2 separate regions of the Homo sapiens genome follow, and region 2 is linked to region 1. The links are contacts of gene promoters, found by promoter capture Hi-C in blood cells and fetal thymus (Javierre and others, 2016). All regions are on one chromosome and are shown on one strand. The core of a region is centred on a gene start or on the middle of the fragment in contact, and the rest is flanking DNA. Distances in the headings are between cores, read along the strand shown.

The links. The method cuts DNA at HindIII sites, captures the fragments that hold promoters and counts their contacts. A CHiCAGO score of 5 or more calls a contact.
Region 2: a fragment that was not itself captured here is called in contact with the fragment with the promoter of ZNF100 in region 1 in 1 of 17 cell types (monocytes); the score reaches 5.3 in monocytes.

Annotation. Positions count from the first base shown.
Region 1 is chr19:21,764,347-21,770,999 of GRCh38, reverse strand. ZNF100 (zinc finger protein 100) reads left to right here and starts at 3,421. Exons shown (of 5, transcript NM_173531.4): 1 at 3,421-3,573; 2 at 5,214-5,306. The coding sequence starts at 3,571. RefSeq lists a silencer at 3,257-3,434. The HindIII fragment of the contact is 10,466 bases long and covers 1-6,653 here.
Region 2 is chr19:21,471,831-21,477,929 of GRCh38, reverse strand. No RefSeq gene overlaps it. Among named protein-coding and RNA genes, the nearest start is that of LINC00664, 8.8 kb to the left of the region's middle. RefSeq lists an enhancer at 2,782-3,435. The HindIII fragment of the contact is 1,474 bases long and covers 1,708-3,181 here.

The DNA.
Region 1 (6,653 bases), core at 2,172-4,671:
AAGTAAATAGGTAGATCTTAAAACAGGGTAGGTTTTATTTTTATTTTGGAAACAGCAGATTTCGATACAAGATGGTCCCCTCTACTGCAACCCTAAAAAACAAATAACGTGAAGTCCTTGTTTCCACTTTTAAAACCCACAGTTCTGCTATTTCATAGTGGGATTTGAGACTAAATAAGTACACTTTTGATGGTGACAGAGTAATATCAATGTCTAAAGTTTTGGTCTATCTCTCAAAATTGAGAACGTGACCAAAAGGGAGAAATTGTTAAATTAATTATCTCTAAAGCTGCACCCTTTCCTGTTTAACTTTGGTCACTAGGTTTTTTTGTACATAGTAAACTGAAACCTAACTGGATATATAAATAGACTGTAACCCATTATTGTACCAACCACTGTGCTTCTGCCAATAAAAGAACATCAAGTGTTCAAATCATGATTAAATAAGGCAAATCCCAACCTGTAATCAATCTGGCTGTTTCTGTACCTCACTTTCATTTTCTGTATGTCACTTTGCTTTTGCTGTCTATCAATCTGTTTTCATCATGTGGCTGTGCTAGAGTCTCTCTGCGCCTACTCTGGATCCACAGGCTACCCAATCTGCAAATCATTCCATGCTCAATTGGACTCTGCTGCTCACGCCTGTAATCCCAGCACTTTGGGAGGACAAGGTGGGCAGATCACGAGGTCAGGAATTCGAGAGCAGCCTGACCAACATGGTAAAACCCCGTCTCTACTAAAAATACAAAAATTAGCTGGTCGTGGTGGCGGATGCCTATAATCCAGGTACTCAGAAGGCTGAGGCAGGAGAATCGCTTGAACTGGGGAGGCCGAGGTTGCAGTGAGCCAAGATCGCACTGCTGTGCTCCAGCCTGGGTGACAGAGCGAGACTCCATCTCAAAAATAAAAAATAAATTTAAAAAATTTATTAATTTCTCTAAAGATTTTTCCTTTTAATGGATTTCAACTATTTTCTATGATGAAAAATAAATAATGTGTTGTTGGTCTTTGATTTTCTAAACTCATCCTTCAGTTATTTCCCCAAATTATTTTATATCTTTTCAAAATGCTTCTCCAATTTTTTTCTTTCTTTTTTTTTTTTTGAGACAGGGACTCACTCTGTCACCCAGTCTTGATTGCAGTGGTGTAACTACTCATAGCTCACTGCAGCCTTGACTTTCCAGGCTTAAGCAATCCTCCTGCCTCGGCCACCTAAGTATCTGGGACTATAGGCATGCACCACCATGGGTGGCTAATTTCTTCATTTTTGTCATGGAAACAGAATCTTATTATGTTGATCAGGCTGCATTGGAACTCCTAAGCTCACATAAATCTCCCATATCAGCCTCCCAAAGTACTAAAAATACAGGTGAGAGCCACCGTGTGCTTCTGCAATTTTTGTGAGGATTATTCCCAAATGAGCACAAATCTAAAAGGAATCTGACTTCTACTATGGAAGTGTCACTCTCCAGGATTTCAATAGTCTAGGGCAGGGCAGCTACTTTAGTAGTGTCATCTATGGAGGTGCATGGGCTTTGGAGTCAGATAAAGTTGATCCTGAGTCTCAGCCCAGCCACTTAGTAGCCGTAGGACTTTGCACAAGTTTCCTGATGTGGAAGAGTTCTATATACCACATATGCAAAAAAGGTAGAATGATACTGATTGCAAAATGACATTTTTTCATCCCTCTTGTATCTTTGCCCATAACCAGGTGCTTTTACAGCTGTTTCCATCAAGATCTGGAATCTGTTTTCAAAGCCCTATATCTGGCTGACCTTATTTGCTCAGGTCAACAGAAACCTGTGAACATGACAGTGGGCCAGTTTGGGGCCCAGGCTCAAATGGTATTGACTGCTTCTCTTTTTCTTTTAGAATGCTGCCATCTCCATGAATAATGCCCATGTTAGCCAGCTGGAAAATAAGATACCATGAAGAGGAGAAGCAAGGTGCCCCTGTTGACAGACCCAGGAGCAGAAGCTCACCCCCAGATGCACAGCTGTCTAGTCAAAAAGCAGGTGATGATACATGTCTGAAGGAGCTCAGCTGAGACCAGAAGAATGGCCCCACTCAGCTCGGCCTAAATGGCCAACCATTTCAATTATAAACTAATAAGTTTTGGATGATTTGTTATGCCTCAATAGCTAACTAATACATGCACCCAGTACAGATAAGTTGCCAGGATTCAGTGACAGGTTGACTAAGAGTTGGCTTCTAACAGTGGACACCCTCTAGGTACTGATTTCTTCCCCTGATTTAAAGTTCGATGTTTTGTAAGAGAATTTTGGGTAATGCAGAAATACCTGTAGACATGTATGCGTGTGATTGGTGCTTAGACTCACATAGTCCCCCACACCACAGGAGAAAACAGATAAACACAGCCTGATTGTTAGGGCCAAGACCATATAGCAAACTATGTTTGTTTTTAATCTATTTTCTCCATCTCTAAATACTGGAGTTCAAGTGTGTGGACAGAACTGAAGACATAGTTGTTTTTTCTCCTGTGGCCCCATCATCCTTTGTTCACTATCTGGTCTCTAAAAGAAAGGTGGGCAACAGGTGGCCAGCAGTTGTTTATTACCTGTGGCTATTTTATTCCTACTGCCCTCAGCTCTTTCTATGGGAACTATCTGGTCCACCCTAGGAACCAAAGAGAGATGTTTGTAGGGAGAGTCTCTTCTTTCACTCTCGCAGGAAAGAGATGTTCAGGCCCTTCACACCGCTGACATCAGAGCTGCACTTCAATGTGACAGCTATTGTCCATGTGTGGCTACTGGGTTCCCACAATGTGCCTGGTCTGAAATGCGATATGCTAGAAAGGTAAAATACAAAGTCAGCTTCAAAGATTTAGTTCCAAATATTTATATATTTTATCAATAATTACATATTTCTCACACATTAAAATGATAATATTTTGAATATAATGGGTGAATTACATTGTTAACAATCAGTTCAACTTGTTTCTTTTTAAAGTTTGGCTACTAGAAAATTTCAAATCCACATGTGGCTGACATTCATTTTAGATGATTTTCTCTTTTCTAAAATCTCAGGCTGCCTGCTCAAAGGGCCAGAAGCCAGGAAGGTCATAAAAGCTGAAATTTTAAAATAATTGTTATATTCTTTTCACTTGTGTATAGCTATATAATGTATTATTTATTTATACATATGACCTTATACACAAATTTAAAGGCAAATACTCTCTGGGATGGGCCTAGCTCAGCTGAGGGAGGAAGCCCTGTCAGAAGAGGGGGCAGTCTAGGCTGTCACTCTTTCTTCATTGAACCCGCATCTGATCACATCTTCTGTCACTCAAAGCCTGACAGGGCGGGGATTTAAGCATTATCCAACCAGGGACGCTGGGCTGGAAACCGTCCAATCAGGCATGCAGCTGGAGCGGACTGGACGGCTTCCGGGTTTGGCGGGGTCTTTGTCTCTCGCTGTAGCCGGAGCTCCAGGTTTTGCTCTCACTTCTCTGTGTCTTCTGCTCCTAGGGGCCTAGCCTGTGTGGCCCTCTGACCTGCAGATATTGGGAGATCCACAGCTAAGACGCCAGGACCCCCTAGAAGCCTAGAAATGGTGAGAGTGCCCGGTCCGACATCCCGAGAGACGGCGAAAGGGCTGGTTGGAACTGGTGGGAAGTAGCTGTGGCGGGACTCAGGCCTCTCCGCAGTCAGCTTCACAATCTGCGCCTTGCCCAGCTCGGCCTCCGTCCCCTTCGGCCATAAGATGGCGGCTGCGCTGACAGCCAGGACCCCAGGCGTCCTTTCTCTTCCCTGCGTAGTGACTGTGCCTTGGCCTGGAGCCCTCTCTTGGCAGCTCTGCACCCGCAGCGCCGCGTCTCTCTCAGATTGTGCAGGGACCACGGGAGGGTCGTCAGGGGAAAATCCTGACTCGGGGTGCGGGTTCATGAATGGGAAGATCTTTGGTCCGTGGCTTTCCCAGTTCCTCTTTTCTCCTATTAAAAATGTATGGGAGTCACTGCACAAATATTAACGATTTTTTTGTTTGTTTGAGACGGAGTCGCTCTGTCGCCCAGGCTAGGGTTTAGTGGCGCGATCTCCCCTCACTGCAACCTCCGCCTCCCGGGTTCTGGAGATTCTCCTGGCTCAGCCTCCCGAGTAACTGGGATTACAGGCGCCTGTCACTGGGCCGGCCTTATTTTTTTGTATTTTTAGTTGGGACGGGGTTTCACCTCGTTGGCCAGGCTGGTCTTGAACTCCTGACCTCGTGATCCGCCCGCCTTGGCCTCCTAAAGTGCTGGGATTACAGGCGTGAGCCACCGCGCCTGGCCTAAAGAATTTAATCAAACAGTGATTCAAGAATCATAGAGTATCCAGCTATGGTTTGTAGTTTGTTGTCTATGGGAGAGGCTTGAAGGAAAGTCATTTATAAAATGTATGATGAAGAAAACTAAATTTAGTAATTGGTTACAGTAACGTAGTTTCTTGATTTGTACAATACAGGTGAAGATTTCCTGGTTGTGTAATCAGAGGTTAATTAACAGTTTATAGTTGTTTAAGCCTACATTTTCTCTGAATGTAGTAATTAAAAAAAAAATGCACCTGAGTTAGATTTTTTTTTTTTTTAAGTAGGAACCCAGGGACTAGAGACACCTCAGTGGAATTGCCTGTCTCTTAATTATTTTCACACTCCACGGGGAACTGATTTTCTGCTGCATTTTTCACCTGTGTCCCAAGCAGGTTGTTAAGTCTAACCCCCGTCCCCCATTTCTCCAGCCTCACTCTGGCTTGCAGTAAGATACTAAATTTCCAATTTCTTCTGGCGTTCCCAAATGTCAACTTTTCCTTCCTAATTCACATTATCACCTATTTGTCCTTTAGTGTACTTGTTTATACCATATTTTAATTAATTGTTTTTGACAAAGCATTAAATGGCGCTTTTAAGAAGATGTGTTATCCGCTTGTAAATATTTCCCACGAAAAGGAAACAAAGACTAATCCTCTGACACTGTATTGTAGAAAATCTCTGTGTCTCTTTTCCTTTTACCTTCTCTAGGCACAGAGATTTATCAGAATGTTTTTGGGTCAAGGTTTTGATTTGGAAAAATCTATGGGGTGATGTGTCCTCAGCCACCCTTTAGTTTTTTCCTGGTCCTGGGTTTCAGTACTATCTGTGGATAAACCGAGATATCCGCCATGGTTCTGTCAGCTAAAGTGCCTAGTGAATGTCAGCTTCTGGTTTATTTTCTCCCGTAGGATGACCCGAGGTATGGAATGTGTCCTCTCAAGGGAGCAAGTGGATGCCCTGGGGCTGAGAGGAGTCTTCTGGTGCAGTCTTATTTTGAAAAGGTAACCCCTTGAGACATTAAAATTGTCTTCACCCAACCCAGCTTTCATTTCTTGGAGACACGTTGCTGGTCAGCCAATCAGATGCTGGTATTGAGGGGAAACACAAAAATAATTTCTGCTCCCTGGATCATCTAAGGGGGGCAGAAAAATAGTGAAATAAATATAAAGAAAAATATTGGAAAAAAAAGTGAAAATTTTGTTACCAAAAAGTATTCCAAAAGACAAACAACAACAGAACTGACCCCAGTGAGATGGTGTAAGAGCTTGCAAAGTAAAATGCACCTGGGGCAGTCACTGGGGCATAATGCAGTGTCTTCTGAGTGGGTGGTTCTTGAGCACATAAGTGAGCAGGAGTGGGTGGAAGAATCTCTCCAGTGATTGAATGACCTGACTTGAAACATGAGTCAGACACATCTGTTATTTAATCAGCACTGCCACTACCTGGGTTTGTCACCTTGAAGATATTTGTCACTTATTTTGACCTCAGTTTTTTAGCTGTAAATTGCATTATATTAGTAGGGCTTGAAAGGTAGAAAAATATTTACAAAGGTCATGAAAGAGGTGGGTTTCAGAAAAAAATGTCTGATCATGTATTTCATTTGTCAAAAATTTGTTAAAAATTCTCATTTACTGTTTTTCCCAGAGTGAGTTAGGAATTTTCTCAGGTGTGTTTTTTTTATGGCTGAGTGATTTCAAACAGAATTTCAAGGCTTAGCTTTTAGAATGCTCCCAGGCAAAATCTCTCAATTTTAGTTTTGGAAAATGAATACATTTCCACAAGAAAATGTGGTGGATAATTGGTGAGTTACATAGATTCATTAAAACATCAGTTTCTTTTTTTTCAGGGTAAATTTGTGACAGTGAATATCTGTGTTCAGATCCTGTTACATTGATTTTTGAGTTTTATGCTAAATTTTATGAGATGAAACTCGGTACTGTTTAGAAGTGCTCCCATATGACTCATTGTTTACAAAATAATTTTAAATGGAATTAATAAAGTAATACGTTTATTGTCTGAAAGAAATAGATACTTTTGCTTTTTTTTTTTTTTCCCCACACGGAGTCTGGTTCTGTCACCCAGGCTGGAGGGCAATGGCACCATCTTGGCTCACTGCAACCTCCGCCTCCCGGGTTCAAGTGATTCTCCTGCCTCAGCCTCCTGAGTAGCTGCGATTAGAGGCGCACCACTATGCCCGGCTAATTTTTGTACTTTTAGTAGAGGCGGGGTTTCACTATGTTGGTCAGGCTGGTCTCAAACTCCTAACCTCGCGATCTGCCCGCCTTGGCCTCCCGAAGTGCTGGAATTACAAGCATGAGCCACCATGCCCGGCCTGATACTTTTGCTTT
Region 2 (6,099 bases), core at 1,195-3,694, 290 kb after region 1:
AAAAAAAAATCAACACACTGTCTTCAACAATGGCTAAAGTAATTTACACTCCCACCAACAGTATATAACCATTTCTTTTTCTCCACAACCTCGCCAGCATCTGTTATTTCTGTAACTTATTAAAAATAGCCTTTCTAACAGGCATGAGATGGTATCTCATTGTGGTTTTGATTTGCATTTATTTAACAATCAGTGGTGTTGCGCTTATTTTCATATGATTGTTGATACACGTCTGTTCATGTCCTTCCCCCACTTTTTTTTTTTTTTTTTTGGAGAGGCAGTCTTGCTCTGTTACCCAGGCTGGATCCCAGCTCACTGCAACCTCTGCCTCCCAGGTTCAAGGAATTCTCTTGCCTCAGCCTCCCTAGTAGCTGGGATTACAGGTGTCCACCATCATGAGATGGAGTTTCGCTCTTGCTGCCCAGGCTGGAGTGCAATGGTGCACTCTTGGCTCACCACAACCTCTGCCTCCTGGGTTCAAGTGATTCTCCTGCCTCAGTCTCCAGAGTAGCTGGGATTACAAACATGCACCACCATGCCCGGCTAATTGTATTTTTAGTAGAGATGGGGTTTCTCCATGTTGGTCAGGCTGGTCTCGAACTGCCAACCTCAGGTGGTCCGCCCACCTTGACCTCCCAAAGTGCTGAGATTACAGGCATGAGCCACTGTGCCCAGCGATATTTTGTATTTTTAATAGAGATGGGGTTTTACCATGTTGGCTAGGCTGATCTTGAACTCCTGACCTCAAGTGATCTACCCACCTTGGCCTCCCAAAGTGCTGGAATTACAGGCATGAGCCACTGAGCCTGGCCCTATTTCATCCACTTTTTTATGGAGTTGGTGTTTTTCTTTTTTTTTTTTTTTTGAGATAGAGTCTTACTCTTTGACACAGGCTGGAGTGCAGTGGTGCACTCTTGGTTCACTGCAATCTCCGCCTCCTGGGTTCAAGCGATTCTCCTGCCTCAGCCTCCCCAGTAGCTGGGATTATAGGCATATGCCACCACAGCCAGCTAATTTTTGTACTTTTAGTAGAGACAGGGTTTCGCCATGTTGGCCAGGCTGGTCTTGAACTCCTGACCTCAAGTGATCCAAACGTCTCGACCTCCCAAAGTGCTGGAATTACAGGCATGAGCCACCACGCACAGCCGGGGTTGTTGTTTTTCTACTGTAAATTTGTTTAAGTTCTTATAGATGCTAGACATTAGACCTTCGACGGATGCATAGTTTGCAAAAATTTTCTCCCATGCTGTATGTTATCTGTTTACTCTGTTGATAGTTTCTTTTGCTGTGCAGAAGCTCTTTTTTTTTTTTTTTGAGATGGAGTCCCGCCAAGATCGCGCCACTGCACTCCAGCCTGGGCGACAGAGACTCAGTCTCAAAAAAAAAAATTAAAGACTACATAAGAGACATTACGACATTTTTCAAACATTACCTTCAAATAAAGAGTGTTCTTCTCACATAATTATACAGATTCAAAATATAAGTAGATTGTGAATTTAGGATTATTTTCCCGACTACTCACCTAGACAGAATAATCATTGAAAACCATGGAAAGAGTATGTCATAAACGAAGTAGTGGCAACACAGATGAAAAACACATCGATATTTCTATAGATGACATACGGCTAATTCATATATAAATTAAGCATCACATTGTCTAAAATTGTACAGAGTTGAAAATTATCATTCAATTCATAATATCAAGCTTTGAAAGCAAAAATACAATTAACTGATCTAAAAAAACATACCCCCTCGAAAAGAAACACTAATGTAGAAATAAAAATAAGAGAGATTTTATTTATTTATTTTTTTGAGACGGAGTCTCGCTCTTGTAACCCATACTGGAGTGCAGTGGCGTGATCTTGGCTCACTGCAACCTCAGCCTACCGAATTCCAGCGATTCTCCTGCCTCAGCCTCCCGAGTAGCTGGGATTACAGGCACCCACCACCAAGCCTGGCTAATTTTTGTATTTTTCTTTTAGTAGAGAAGGAGTTTCACCATGTTGGCCAGGCTGGTCTCCTGACCTCAGGTGATCCACCCGCCTTGGCCACCCAAAGTGCTGGGATTACAGGGGTGAGCCACCGCGCCCGGCCAAGAGAGATTTTAACGCATAATATGCTGAATACAACATAGATATTAAAAATAATTCTTTAGATATCTACAGTTTTTAGCTGTGTGTACTCTTGCAGAGCAGGCATTCTGAATCATTGGCATTCAATGAATGGCAGCAAAATTTCACAGAAAAATGCATTACAATCAATAATAGGCTCTAATGAGAAAATTTAATAAATACGAAAAGTACGGCGGAAAAATTTATTTGTGGCCGAAAAGGACGGCGGAAAAATTTCTTTGTGGCCGGGCGCGGTGGCTCACGCCTGTAATCCCAGCACTTTCGGAGGCCGAGGGGGGCGGACCATCTGAGGTCAGGAGTTCAAGACCAGCCTGGCCAACATAGTGAAACCCTGTCTTTACTAAAAATACAAAAAATTAGCCGGGCATGGTGGCGGGTGCCTGTAATCCCAGATATTCGGGAGACTGAGGCTCGAGAATCGCTTGAGCCCAGGAGGCGGAGGTTGCAGTGAGCCGAGATCATGCCACTGCACTCCAGCCTGGAGACAAAAGCGAGACTCCGTCTCACAAAAAAATAATAATAATCAGAAAAGACTTAAGACCCCACGGGCAGCAGCCCCTCCAACGCATACACCGAGTGGGGATTCTGCCGATGACCCGCCTGTCTTCCCTGAACAACCCGGGAAATACTCGGGATTGCGGGTGCAGAGCTGCCCAGAGAGCCCCGGACTGGCGCCGCGCAGAAACTGGCGGGACGCTGTGGTCCTGGCTGCGAGTCCAGCCGCCATCTTGCGGCCAGAGTGGCCTGGAGCGGAGCTGTGCCAGCGGGGACTCAGGTCGGCGACCCAGGAGCGGACTGTGGGGAGGCCGGTCCAGCCGGTTTCACAGGCCGCTCTCCCATCTCGGGATGCTCAACCCGCACACCCACCGGCTGTGACAAAGTCACCTGGGGCTCCCGAGGTGGAGGACGCAGAATAGCAGAGACAGGCAACTAAAACTCTGGCAGGAGCGAGACAAAGGGCCCGCCAAATGCCGGAGGCCACGCCCTCCTCTCCAACTCCGCGCCTGATTGGGCGGTTCCCGCGCCAGCGCCACTGATTGGATAAAGCTTCAGGACCCACCTCCCAGCGCGGCTTCCCCAGCATTAGTGCATTTTATGGGCAGGGAAACAGGCTGAAGTAGGCAGGGTCACCTGCTCAGGGAATTACAGCTAATTAAGAAGTGAGCTGAGGCTTGAAATGCGCTTGCTCTTTCCCTTACCTGGGTCTACTTGTATAATGCATCTGAGTAGTTATTTTAGGGTAAAAAGAAAATTTGGACACCTTTTTAACAACTTTTTAATCATTTTGATAATGCAGGAAAAACCTTCATCCCATCCCTGAGCCCCTCTCTCACCATGCTGTACCACACTGCTGACCACATCGTGGGATGGCCATTAGGAATGGGGCGGGGGGGAGGTGGGCAGAGGGGGCTGAGAATGGGTAAGCATGAATTACGTTGGCCAAATGTGCTCATCTTAGAAAGGCTCCTCAGGCATTTTGTGTGAAGCGTCTATCCTTGGGGTAATTGTGCCCTGACTGCGCTGCATCTCAGTCTGACTTCTCCTTTTGAAAATCACTGGATTACTTTCATTAACGGGTGTGTTTCATTTTCTATTTGAAAATGGCCAGGCTGGGCGCTGTGGCTCACGCCTGTAATCCCAGCACTTTGGGAGGCCGAGGCGGGCGGATCACCTGGGGTCAGGAGTTCAAGACCAGCCTCAACATGGAGAAACCCCGTCTCTACTAAAAATACAATTAGCCAGGCGTGGTGGTGCACGCCTGTAATCCCAGCTACTCAGGAGGCTGAGGCAGGAGAATTGCTTGAACCTGGGAGACGGAGGTTGCAGTGAGCCGAGATCGCGCCATTGCACTCCAGCCTGGGCAACAAGAGTGAAACTCCGTCTCAAAAAAAAAAAAAAGAAAGAAAGAAAAGAAAATGGCCAACGGTTTTCTGTAGGTGTCCTGATTTGATTTGCTAGTTTAGACCCTGGAGGTAGAGGTCAGAAAGCACTTGAGCCACATCAGAACACCTTTTCAACTGGAGGATACATAGGAATTCTTTAATAATATCTAACAGTTTTCTCAATACCCATTATATTTAACAGTGATAGCTTGGAGGGTAGGGAGGGGACACAGATGACACAACCTTATTAGTTCAATTTTGTTATAAGTTTTTGTGTTTTGTTTTTGGAGACAAGGTCTCACTCTGGTGCCCAGGCTGGAGTGCAGTGGCACATCATAGCTCATTATTTGGTTGTAACAGTTCTTTAAAAAATATTTTTGAGGGCCAGCTGCAGCGGCTCACGCCTGTAATCCCAGCGCTTTTGGAGGCCGAGGCGGGTGGATCACCTGAGGTCAGGAGTTCAAGACCACCCTGGGCAACATGGTGAAACCCCACCTCTACTAAAAATACAAAAAATAGCCGGGCGTGGTGGCACATGCTTGTAATCCCAGCTACTGAGGAGGCTGAGGCAGGACAATCGCTTGAACCTGGAAGGCACAGGTTGCAGTGAGCCCAGATCATGCCATTGCACTCCAGCCTGGGCAACAAGGGAAAAACTTCGTCTCAAAAAGAAATAAAAATTTTAAAATATATATTTTTGAGGCCGGGCATGGTGGCTCACGTCTGTAATCCCAGCACTTTGGGAGGCTGAGGTGGGCGGATCACAAAGTCAGGAGTTTGAGACCAGCCTGGCCAACATAGTGAAACACCGTCTCTACTAAAAATACAAAAATTAGCTGGGCATGGTGGCAGGCCCCTGTAGTCCCAGCTACTTGGGAGGCTGAGACAGGAGAATTGCTTGAACCCGGGAGGCAGAGGTTGTGGTGAGCCGAGATCGTGCAGCTGCACTCGAGCCTGAGCAATAGAGCGAGACTCTGTATCAAAAAAAAAAAAAAATTTTTTTTTTTGCCTGGGCTTGATGGCTCACACCTGTTATCCAAACACTTTGGGAGGCAGGCCAAGGTGAAATGATCACTTAAGCCCAGGAGTTTAAGACCAGTCTGGGCAACATTTTAAGCCTCAGTCTCTACAAAAAAATTTTAAAATTGGCCAGGTGTGGTATTGCATGCCTATAGTCCCAGCTACTTGAGAGGCTGAGGTGGAAAAATCACTTGAGCCTAAGAGTTTGAGAGTGCAGTAACCCATGATTCAGCCACTGCACTCCAGCCTGGGTGACAGAGTGAGACCTCTGAGTGTGTGTGTGTGTTATATAATTTATTTTTAAAAATAATATGTATGTTAAAAAAATTTCAAGCACAGAAAAAAAGTGAAAGACCTTGGGGGTGGGGGTATGTGAAGAAAGGTGAGTGTGGGCTGGGTGCGGTGGCTCACACCTGTAATTCCAGCATTTTGGGAGGCCAAGGTGGGCGGGAATCGCCTCAGGTCAGGAGTTTGAGACCACCCTTGCCAACATGGTGAAACCTTGTCTTTACTAAAAGTACAAAAATTAGCTGGGCATGGTGGTGGGCACCTGTAATCTCAGCTACTCGGGAGGCTGAGACAGGAGAATCGCTTGAAACCGGGAGTCGGAGGTTGCAGTGAGCCGAGATCACACCACTACACTCCAGCCCGGGCGACAAAAGTAAAACTCTGTCTCAAAAAAATAAAAATAGATTAAAAAAAAAAAAAAAGAAAAGTGGCTCCTGCAACTCGGTGAGACTTGGTTTTCTATTTTGAAAAACTGCCCATCCACACAGGAACCATCACCTAGCTCATGCCAATTCTCTCTCTCTCTCTTTTTTTTTTTTTTTTTTGAGACAGGGTCTGACTGACTGTGTAGCCCAGGCTGCGGTGCAGTGGTGCAGTCTGGGCTCACTGCAACCTCTGCCTCCTGGGTTCAAGCGATTCTCCTACCTCCGCCTCCCAAGTAGCTGGGGCTACAGGTGCCCACCATCATGCCTGGCTAATTATTGTATTTTATGGTAGAGATGGGGTTTCACCATGTTGGCCAGTCTGGTCTCAAACTCCTGACCTCAAATTATCTG